Linked DNA regions of Homo sapiens: region 1 is linked to region 2. The links are contacts of gene promoters, found by promoter capture Hi-C in blood cells and fetal thymus (Javierre and others, 2016). All regions are on one chromosome and are shown on one strand. The core of a region is centred on a gene start or on the middle of the fragment in contact, and the rest is flanking DNA. Distances in the headings are between cores, read along the strand shown. Region 1 holds the start of SDE2 (spliceosome associated SDE2). Region 2 holds the start of C1orf35 (chromosome 1 open reading frame 35).

The links. Contacts are between HindIII fragments. The CHiCAGO score rates a contact against its expected background, and 5 or more counts as called.
Region 1: the fragment with the promoter of SDE2 here is called in contact with the fragment with the promoter of C1orf35 in region 2 in 1 of 17 cell types (neutrophils); the score reaches 6.7 in neutrophils.

What each region holds. Positions count from the first base shown.
Region 1 is chr1:225,997,442-226,002,823 of GRCh38, forward strand. SDE2 (spliceosome associated SDE2) reads right to left here and starts at 1,902. Exons shown (of 7, transcript NM_152608.4): 1 at 1,752-1,902. The coding sequence starts at 1,871. RefSeq lists enhancers at 1,757-1,866, 2,387-2,536, 2,557-2,656, 2,737-2,786 and a silencer at 1,927-2,206. The HindIII fragment of the contact is 16,010 bases long and covers 1,093-5,382 here.
Region 2 is chr1:228,099,991-228,105,430 of GRCh38, forward strand. It overlaps C1orf35 (chromosome 1 open reading frame 35), which reads right to left and starts at 3,335. Exons shown (of 8, transcript NM_024319.4): 1 at 3,144-3,335; 2 at 2,909-3,059; 3 at 2,653-2,698; 4 at 2,488-2,570; 5 at 2,320-2,392; 6 at 2,090-2,175; 7 at 1,349-1,483; 8 at 741-1,264. The coding sequence starts at 3,237. The coding sequence ends at 1,141. RefSeq lists enhancers at 31-270, 1,381-2,101, 2,102-2,821, 2,822-3,542, 3,543-4,262 and silencers at 2,170-2,249, 2,500-2,669, 2,830-3,099. The HindIII fragment of the contact is 8,620 bases long and covers 1-5,440 here.

The DNA of each region.
Region 1 (5,382 bases), core at 652-3,151, 2.1 Mb before region 2:
CTTTTTCAGACCGAGTCTTGCTCTGTCACCCAGTTTGGAGTGCAATGGCTCAATCTCGGCTCACTGCAACCTCCACCTCTCAGGTTCAAATGATTCTTCTGCTTCAGCCTCCTGGGTAGCTGGGATTACAGGCGTCTGCCGCCACGCCTGGCTAATTTTTGTGTATTTTTAGGAGAGATGGGGTTTCACCATGTTGCCAAGCTGGTCTCGAACTTCTGACCTCAGGTGATCTGCCCGCCTCGACCTCCCTAAGTGTTGGAATTACAGGCGTGAGCCACCACGCCTGGCCTATATTTCTTGCTTCCGATTTAAAAATTCTTTTTTCCAACATACCTCATGATTAAGATCCTATTTTTTCTGGTTTCACTTTGGATCAATTGTCAGCAAGTTTGAAAACTGTACTCATAGGCCGGGAGGAGTGGCTCAAGCCTGTAATCCCAGCACTTTGTGAGGCTGAGGTGGGCGGATCACCCGAGGTCAGGAGTTCAAGACCTGGCCAACGTGGTGAAACCCCGTCTCTACTAAAAATACAAAAATTAGCCAGGCATGGTGGCGGGCGACTGCAATCCCAGCTATTTGGGAGGCTGAGGCAGGAGAACCGCTTGAACTCAGCGAGGCGGAGGTTGCAGTGGGCCGAGATCACGCCATTGCACTCCAGCCCGGGCAACGGGAGTCAAACTCCGTCGGGGGTGGGGGAGGGGGAGAAAAGAACACTGTACTCATGAAATAAGAATTATTTTCAAAGGAATTAGAATGCAATTATTTTCATGGTCAAAAACAGTTGTGCTTACAGTTTTTAGACTGGATTACAGAGCAGGAAGGAAAACATGGAAAGTGAAAAACCGTATTATTTGCAAACACACATTGCTTCTTCACGGAATCGATCCAAGTCTCTTAAAATTTTGGTCTAGACTGCAGTGTTAACATTTGTTAAGCTTATAAATAGTAAGCAGAGGAAATAGCCGAGGAAAGCACGGATGAGGTGCGGAAAGAACAGAGTTCTAGATCAAGTGCCAACATTAAAATTAGATTCAGGGAAACCACTAAATTCTTTTGACAACTGAACAGGTTTAATATCTTATAGCTGGTAAAAGCTTACTTACTTGAAAGTTCAGTAAAAGCTCACGTGTAACTCTGGAAGTCCCTGGTAGGTTTTCACAAATATGCACGGACAAATGAGACCATCAAATTAATAGTGAACACTTCTACGTAACAGGCCCTAAGAACCCAGGCCCTCAACAGGACACACGTGTGAATGCTTGGTCACAACGACTGACCAGAAGAATCAATTTTCCTTCCCAATCATCCTTTGGCCTGGGTTTGGATATGACATACTTCTCTAGGCTGGGGCTAACAAGGCTGTGTGATGAGTGGACAAAATACACGTCACATAACCATAGTAAGAAGGTGAAGACTGGAGCCTTAAAAATCAGCCGGCCCAACTGCCAGAAGACCATTATATTTACGGATAAAGAAAGAGAAACAAAGTATTTGTAACTGTGAGCGGGACTAAGTGCCTGTAACAGTTTTTTTCTCCCTCTTGGTGGGAAGGCAAAACCACCACCACAAAAGAAAAGCAAAGGAAGGTCTCAGTAACAATTCGAAGCACCTTAACACTGAGGAACTCTCAGCCTCAACGAGTGAAAACCCCAGAGAATAAACGTACCCCCGCCCCGGACAGACCTACTCCGCACCCAGCGCTGCCACCTGTCTGCCTCTTTCTCCTTCCTAACAGGAACCGAAATCCTCACCTGATCTTGGCAGTGCCGGTGGATAAAATCCCGGACGGTGCACCGACCCGAGGCACACCGCACCGCCTTGCACCCGAAGCCAGGGCCGCGAATCCACACCAGCGCCGCGGCCTCCGCCATGTCACCGACTACCCGAACCTCAAGCCTCTCTGAGACACCAGGCGCCGCAACTCGCCCGGCGCCTCTTGATGACGCGAGCATCTTCCAACGCCCCGCCCCTCACGCTTCCGTTCACCCCTCCCCTCCCCTGGGGCGGGTCAAGTGAGCCGGGCGGCGGGGCGGTGCGGGCTGGGGGAGGGGAACAGGAAAGGCCTGGCGGAGGCAGATAAGGCGGCAGAGCACGGGGCGAGGCGTTGCTAGGAGAAGTTGCTAGGGCGGGGCTCGAGGGACCGGCTATAAAAGGCTGGCGCTGGGTTAGGTTTCGAGCTTCCTGGCCGTAAGCGATAAGGCTTTAACTGAGAACCACCTTGTGCTGTAGGCTTTGGCCCTTTTCCTCACATCTGTGTAGTTATTTTTGGGTCGCGGAGAATTGTGGCCCGAGAAGGCTCTGCTCCTTGAGAGTGTGGGGAGAGAAGCTGCAGTCCCGGAAGCGGTTTTAGGGGGCCGCTTCCTTGGCCTAGAGGAGCTCCCCAACCCGAGGGGGCAAGGGAAACGACCCCCAGGAGGCCCCTAAACAGTGGCCGGCGTGGTTTCTCCTCCAGCTTTACAGAGCCTTCTCTTCCCCTCCAGAAACAGCCAACCTCCGGGTTTCTGCCTGCCACGCACGGTTTATTCTTATTTCCGCCTGTTTGTGCACTGCGTTATCTCCACTTCAGCTCTGTTTTCAAAATATTTCACAGCAAGTGGGCTCTTGTGAAAGGCAGTGACAGGAGTGACGTTTATAGTCATGCTGCTTCAAAAAACCCTACCATAACTTTTATTCTGCACCATGGAAACACACTCGGACAGATTTGCATAACGTAACCTTAAGGCTCAGGGAATCCGAAAGAGTCCCTTAATATTTAACAGAATGAGATTATGGTATTTCTAAAACCCTGAACAATTCAAAAGCCACCAGTGTGAAGATAGGAAGGTTATTTGGAGATATCTGTGCCTGCTAAACACAAATGCATCGGCCCACAGAATTGCCTTCTCTGCTGTTAAAATGCTTGGCAAATGGAACTCCTAGCTGAGGGGGTAACAACAAAAAATTCAGAAATCGTTTAGCGGTGGCAGTATGTGCGAAAATGGAATTTCAAGGCCTGGGAAGTTAATAGATTCAGTGGTCTTTATTTCACACACGAGGGAAAGTTGGGGAGAGAAAGGGCCTCCATGGGGATGCCAGTAGATAAATAAAAATTACAAAAAAAAAAATAATAAAGATAGATTGTACTGGCCGGGCGCGGTGGCTCATGCCTGTAATCCAGCACTTTGGGAGACTGAGGCGGGCGGATCTCGAGGTCAGGAGTTCGAAACCAGCCTCACCAACATGGTGAAACCCCATCTCTACTAAAAATACAATAATTAGCCGGGCGTGGTGGTGCGCGTCTGTAATCCCAGCTATTCAGGAGGCTGAGGCAGGAGAATCGCTTGAACCCGGGAGGCAGAGGTTGCAGTGAGCTGAGATCGTGCCATCGCACTCCAGCCTGGGCGACAGAGAGAGTCTCCGTTTCAGAAAAAAAAGATATATTGTACCTAGGAAGCAGTATTTCGGAAAGGTGGTGCCATGGCAACCCTGGGGCGTGAAGGTGTCGCCAGGTTACATGTAAGCCGTCCAAACTCCAGAAACCTCAAGTCCCTCTGCAGTCTGCTCCCCAGCTCTCTGTCCTCCAGGTTCCTGAAAAAGTAATCTACAGATCTGAGCCTTAAGCCTCTTCTTTTTTTATTTGTGATTTCTTCCTTCTGGTGATCAAAAATGACTATTTCAAATAAATAAATAATTTTTTTAAATGACCATTTCAAAGGTCTGAGATCCTACAAGTAACTGTATAAAGGTCAGTTTGGGTTTCCAAAACATTTTTTGTGTCGGGATAATGCTTCGTGTCTTGTGAGGAATTATTATGATTAGTCTTTTTTTTCTTTCTTTCTTTCTTTTTTGAGACACTCGCTCTGCCACCTGGGCTGGAGTGTAGTGGCGCAATCATAGCACACGCAGCCTTGAACTCCTGGGCTCAAGTGATCTGCCACAGACTCCAGATGGATTACAGGTGCATGCCACCACACCTGGCTAATTTTTAAATTTTTTGTAAAGACGAGTTTTTCGCTAAGTTGCCCAGGCTGGTCTTGAACTCTTGGGCTCAAAAGATCCTCCCGCCTCAGCCTCCCAAAGTGCTGGGATTACAGGCGTGACCTGCCGTGCCTGGCATAAGTAGTACTTTCCAGTAAGGAAACTCCACATCATTTATTACTAACATTATATTTAGTCCTCATAAAACCTGATGTCTGAATGGAATTTTTCGCTTTTTATCCCTCTGTTGCATTTAAATTCCTATTATTTAAAGAATCCCAAGTATTGAATAGGTATTTGTCATTTAAAATATGAAATAACCATTGATATTAGCTTTTGAAAGACACAAATTTCCAAGTAATATATAATTTGTTGTTAAAACTTCAAAATGAGCGTGTAGTACCATGACATGTACAGAGTAGATATTAAGTAAATATTAGTTGGATACTTGATGGATTACTAAGGTAGAAGTTAATTATTCTCAATGTACATATGATGAAATATATTTTGCACTAATATAACAATCTATTGTAAGGATGCAGAATTTAACTTGGATTGCTATTAAATTCCTTTAAAGAATGAGGAAATTGAAGCATGTAAAGTTAGGGCTATGGCCAAGAACACAGTGCACATCAGTGAAAAAAAAAAAATCTAGAAAGACAGCTATTAGCTGGGTTACTATGGGTGTGTGGTAGCTTCCAGTTGACAGTGCTATGTGGCGGGGCTGATCAGTGATTATGGAAAAGAGCCAACTGCTGCTACCTTTCCCACCTCATGACGTCAGGGAAGGCACAGGAAGGCACGTGTGTGGTTGTGACAACTAAATGGTGAGTGGGAGGGGGGCCAGTTCCTCTATTGTCTACATAGTGTGGCCATGCTCCTCAGACTATATTTGGTGTGCTTTCCAGTAAACCACACTGGCTTTGTTCCTGCCTATGTTCTCCAGAAGAATGCTCTGGCCACACATTTGCCTTTTGAGGACTGGTTCTGCTGCCGTGAGAGGGACACTGGGAGGGCATCTTGAGGCAATGTGGAATAATTGTTCACTGCCAGGAAATGACAGCACCAGACAGACAATGTTTGTGTGGCAACCCATGACAGGGGCTCAATCGAGCCAAATGTCATGCTGGTCTGCAAGAACAGGAAGCAGAACTGTATGCTGGCAATTTCCATAAACAGCAGCCACGCTCCTAAACTAGTGAATCGATATCCATGTGTGACATGCAAGTCGCACTTCTGTGTTTTCAGCCATGTTTGTGCGCAGAGAGGAAAGGTGGTTGCTAATACCTTATTTATGACAAAAGACAATGGGACAGGCTGACTCCTTCTGTGCCAGAAATGCAAAAATGCCATAAACCCCCAAATTGGCAAGTGTTGCCTTATAGATGGCTCCAGCCCCAGGGACAATGAGGTCAGCTCCTAGGA
Region 2 (5,440 bases), core at 2,085-4,584:
CAGGTGCCATCTGTCTTTATGCCATGCAGCCTGGTGGCCGCACACATCCTGAACAGCCCTGATCCTTCTTAGGGTCAGGCAGAAGGGACACCCAGCCCACTGCCTCTGGAGAAGCGGAGCTGAGGGTTGGGGTAGCAGGCAGTTGGAGGAGCTCCCCAACCCCCACACCCAATTGAGGCTGTGCCTCCACAGACTGCAGTCTTTGACCTCACCTGTCGCAGGGATAGGGCTCCCTGCCCCAGGTTCCCACATTGCCAGCTGAGCACCTGCTTCCAGGGCCTCAGCCCTCCCTGGGTTTTGGTGGGGGCTCTGGGCACACATGGGAGGACTACATTCCCCCAGGACATTAAGAATCAGATGGGCACCGGGGCTCACACCTGTAATCCCAGCACTTTGGGAGGCCAAGGCGGGCGAATCACCTGAGGTCAGGAGTTCAAGACCAGCCTGGCCAACACGGTGAGACCTCGTCTCTACTAAGAAATAACAAAAATTAGCCTGGCGTAGTGGCAGCGCCTGTAATCCCAGCAACTCAGGTTGAGACAGGAAAATCGCTTGAACCCGCGAGGCGGAGGTTGCAGTGAACTGAGATCACACCATTGCACTCCGGCCTGGGCAACAAAAGTGAAACTCAAAAAAAAAAAAAATCACCAGGTCTCAGACTCCTGGGAGACAGACCCCAGCTCCGACGTTCCAGTGGGATCTCATTAACCCCTGATACTGACCTTCCAATTTGATATACCTTCCTTTTAAAATATATTTATTGAAATACAAAGAGTCAATATAAAGAAAAATAGAGGTCACCATACTTGGCCACAGTTAGACCGCTCATAGGCCCATGGCTGCTGCAACCATGGGCAGGACACAGAGGGAGTCCAGCCTCTACTGATAAATCTGGGCAGGTTCACCTTCGCAGGCCAAGCCAGGGGCCATCCCTGGTATGCGAAACCTGGAGGTTTTCCAGGAAGCCGGCTGCTCCAGAGCTAGCTGTCAAGTCTTTAGCCCCACAGGCTGGTGCCCAGAGCCACTTCCACAGGAGCAGCCTCGGGCTTCACCCACACCCAAGGAGCTTCCGAGGCAGGAGGCAAGCAAGGTGAAGGGAGGGTTCAGGGTCCCACAACAGCAGTGAGCAGGGTCCAGCCATCAGGCCTCAGAGCCTCTGTCATGCCACCTGCGAGACGGGCTCCTCCTGTCCCCACTGTGTCCCCGCTTCCTCCTCTTACAGCAGGGGGAGTTGGAGTCGGAGTCATGGTGGTGGTGCCTGGGCCTGGGGAGACCAATGGCAGTCAGTCACTCGGAAGGAGTCAACCAGGCCCCCACCCCCAAGAGGCAGATATGGACCAGGGCATACCTCTCAGGAGATGTGGGAGAGGAGGTGGCCTCAGCTGGCCGCCTGTGCTCTTTGTCTTTCTTCTTCTTCTCTTTCTTGTGTTTCCTCTTTTTCTTTTTCTTCTTCTCCTTCTTGCTTTTCCTGTGGCTCTCACAACTACAAGGAGGATACAAGGTGTGCCTCAGACCCTAGTCTTGCAAGCCAAGAGAGTGAACACAAGCAGGCCCCATCCAGATGAAGCCACCACCCACAAGTGCGTCTTTAAATCAGTTAAATCAAACTACAAATTCCACTCCTCAGTTACGTAGTCACGTGGCCAGTGGCTACGTGGGTTAGAAACAGATGCAATATCCCCATCTCCACAGCACGCCCCTGCCCCACCCCAGCCGTGCCCTTGGCAGGTTGACACCTTCCTACCTGCACCCACCAGGCCACTCTTAGGGTCAGGCCCAGGCTCACCATCCAGGAGAAGCCCTGGAGGTGCCACCCACGGCAGGAAAAGGCCCCGCCCCAGGTCCTGAGTGCCCTCCCACGGCACAGCGCCCGACCACTGCCAGTACTTAGGACCTCTCTTCAAGGGTGACCCGAGAAACTCCCCTAGAGAAAAACCTAGGAGTAACTGGGACAGGAAGTAAAGTAGGGCAGGCCACCCGCCGGGCCGGTGCGCCAAGAGAAGCTGCCACCTGCCCGAGTGGGAGCCGCTCCGGTCCTCCCGAGACCCCCCACCCCGGGGCACAGCTAGCCCAGGTGGCACAGCCTCACCTGCTTTCCGTCTGATCCTCCGCCCGCGGCTTCCTCCTGGCCGAGGCTGCCGAGGTCCCGGGCCCGCCGCTCTCTACGCGGTGATGCTGCGGGAGAAGCGAGCTCTGCGGAGGAGTCTGCGGGCCGGCCCCACACCACGCCCCGCAGCGCCCCGGGGAGCTCCGTTCAGTGCCCCCGCCCCGCCCCACCCCTGTTAGCCCCTGCTGCGGTCAGGCGGGGCGGGGGATTACCGTGAACACAGACAGCCCCAGTTTGGCGGCCTCCTTGTCCTCTCGGGACATCGCCACGCGGCCCACGGAGCCACTGCAGGGACATGGCGATGAAGACAGTACGGCAGGGGTCCGCCTCACCCGAGCAATCGAGCCCAGTGCTGCCCTCCCCTGGAAACCCGCCCGCACCTTGCGCTCCCCAGCCCCAGCAGCCGGTCCACGCCCTTCTCCTCGGGGTCGCCTCCTTCCCGCTTGCAGACCTCCGCGAAGTCCTGCAGGTGCGAGAGCACAGGGAGCGCTCGAGTCGGCCCCACACCCACGGCCCTCCACGCGCCCCCCACCCCGGGGAGTTACCTCCTTGCTCAGGCCCGTGGGCTGCTTCTTCACGTTCTTGTAGCCACTGCGAGAGGGCCGGGGCAGGCGTCAGGACGGACGGACCTCCTCCCACCACAGGTCCTCACCACTCCAGCCTTCGTCCTCAGGGTCCCGCCCGCGCGAGTCCCCGCAGCCCCGCTCCCGCCCAGCCCGACCCCCAGTCCCCGGCCCCGGCCCCACCCTGCCCCGGCAGCGCCGTCCCAGGCACCGACCGCTGCCGTCCGCGGACACTCACAGGGCGGCCAGCAGCGCCTCGCGCTCCGCCTCCCGCACGGCTGCCAGTTCCTCCTCGCGGCTCGGGCCCGCGCATGGCGCCCGGCCCTTGGCGTACCAGGTGAGGTCGCGGCCCTTCTGCCAGCGGCCTACCGGCGCCATCAGCGAGTTGCCTGCGGACGTAGACGCTGTGAGTCCAGCGCCCGCCCGGGATCCCGGAGCCCGGAGCCCGGAGCCCGCCCACCGCGCGCACCCACCCAGGTAGTTCTCCCGCTGCTTGTCAGTCTTCACGTCCTCCCAGTTGAACTGGTCCTGCCCGCCGCGCACGCCTCCACGACTGGAGCCGAACATGGCGCCGGGAAGGCAGTTGCCTGGGGCCTGCGGCTTGCAACCTGCAACCCGCAACCCGAGACCCGCTACCCACTACCGTCGGACCCAGGCCCGACCCCGCCTCCGCGTCGCGCGCCGTGACGTCACTCCCGCGCCCACTCGGCTTCGCCGCGCGCCTCTGCGCAGCGCACTGCCCCGGATCTGTGCTCCCGCGCATCACCTCCACGTCGGCTTTGGGCGCCTGCGCACTGCGCCTACCCTGCCGGGCGCGGGAACGCCTCTGAACTGGAAGTTTAAAAATGGTTAAAACGGGGCCGGGCGGAGTGGCTCTCGCCTGTAATCCCAGCAAGTTGGGAGGCCGAGGCGGGCGGATCGCTTGAGGTCGGGAGTTCGAGACTAGCCTGTCCAACATGGTGAAACCCGGTCTCTACTCAAATACAAAAATTAGCCGGGTGTGGTGGTGCACACCTGTAATTCCAGCTACTCAGGAGGCTGAAGCAGGAGAATCACTTGAGCCGGGAGGCAGAGGTTGCAGTGAGCCGAGATCGCGCCACTGCACTCCCGCCTGGGCGACAGAGCGAGACTGTCTCAAAAATAAGAAGTTAAAATGGGCCAGGCGCGCGCGCGCCCCTGTAGCCCCAACGCTTTGAGGCTGAGGCGGGAGGATCTCGAACCCAGGACTTCGCGCCACTGCACTCCAACCTGAACGAGTGAGCGGACCCTGTCTCATAAAAAAAGAAAAAAGAAAACACACAAGATGCGCCTAGTTAACACCGCCAATTGGTCACTGCTAGTCGCGATTCCATATCGGGAGCTTAACAAGGTAATGACCTTAATGATTTGTGGAATTTCTGAGTATTACCCAGTAAACTTCTGGATGAACCAGCAGCTACCCAGACACCCTCAGAGCACTGGTCCTATCCCTGCCGTGTTAAACTGAATGTGCACCCTAACTCCCATGTGAAATCCTCACCCCAAGGCGTTGGTGCTTCGGAGGTGACTAGGTCATGAGGACAGAGCCTTCATAAAAGGGACCCCAAGAGCTTTGTGCAGCTTTCTACTGTGTGAAGGCAGCGGGAAGGAAGTCTGCAGTCTGGAAGAAACCCCTTACCAGAACCTCAGCGTGCTGGGCACCCTGATTTTGGAGGTTGTGACGTACCCCTGCTTCCCCTTTCCACTTTCATTCCCAGTGCTGACTGAGAAACAGAGTCCCTTGGCCACTCTGTGACTTCGCCAACTGTATAATTTCCTCTGCAGACTTGAACCCGAGCCATAGCCATGAACGTTCCCAGGCACAGATGACAGTAACTAGGTTGTTGCTCAAAACACAGAAAGAAACTGGACTCAGCCTGAGCCAGATTCCTCAAACCCTCATATAAATTCCATTCACCAACCCCCTCCCCCACGGACATACCTAGAGAGAACTTCATTTCTCTCACTGCCTATTGCAAGAACTGCTGCAGCCCACTCTGTACAAAAGCCCCACGAATAAATGCTCTGGGCGAATCACCCTGGCATGCTCAATCTGTAGAATCCTAACCAGCCCCATCTCAGGATGGTGTGGGGCACTCCCTTGTGGGAACTCTACTGCCACCACTTTTGGGGCAATTCCAGCCACAGGTTGAACTGGATGAAATACAGGTCTACTGTCCTGTGGGAAATTTCTGTTTCTTAGTGACCCAGTCCATGGGTCAGGCTGTTAGAGCAGGCTGGCAGACAGCCACACGTCTGGCTCATCTATCTACTTAGCAAGTACTGGCTGCCATCTCCCTCATGAGGCACTGCATGAGCTTTCATCATGGAGCAGGTGCATGGCGAGGGCAGAGCAGCAGGCCACAGCCAGGCACACAGAAGGTGACTGGCCGACTCCCAGGAAGGCTCCCTGGGGTGTAGGGCATCATCTCCTGGGTGCCATTGCAGCTTGCCAGGCCAGGGTGGACTTGGGCCATGTGGGCAGGGCCCAGCTGTGGAGTCTGACCACTGACTGGATGTCAGGTGTGGTGGAGAGGGGATAGCAGGGCCAGGTGGACATTGGGCAGGAGTCCAGGACGGCTCTGAGGCTCTGGTCTGGGCAACTGTGAGGATGAAGCAGCCACCTGTCAACATGAGGACCAGGTTTGTGGGGAAGACCTGGTCAGTTTTGAGCCCATTAGCCTGACAAGCCGTAGGCCACAGGAGGAGGGGTCACCAGGGTGGAGGTTGCATGGCCTGTGCCTGCTGGGTG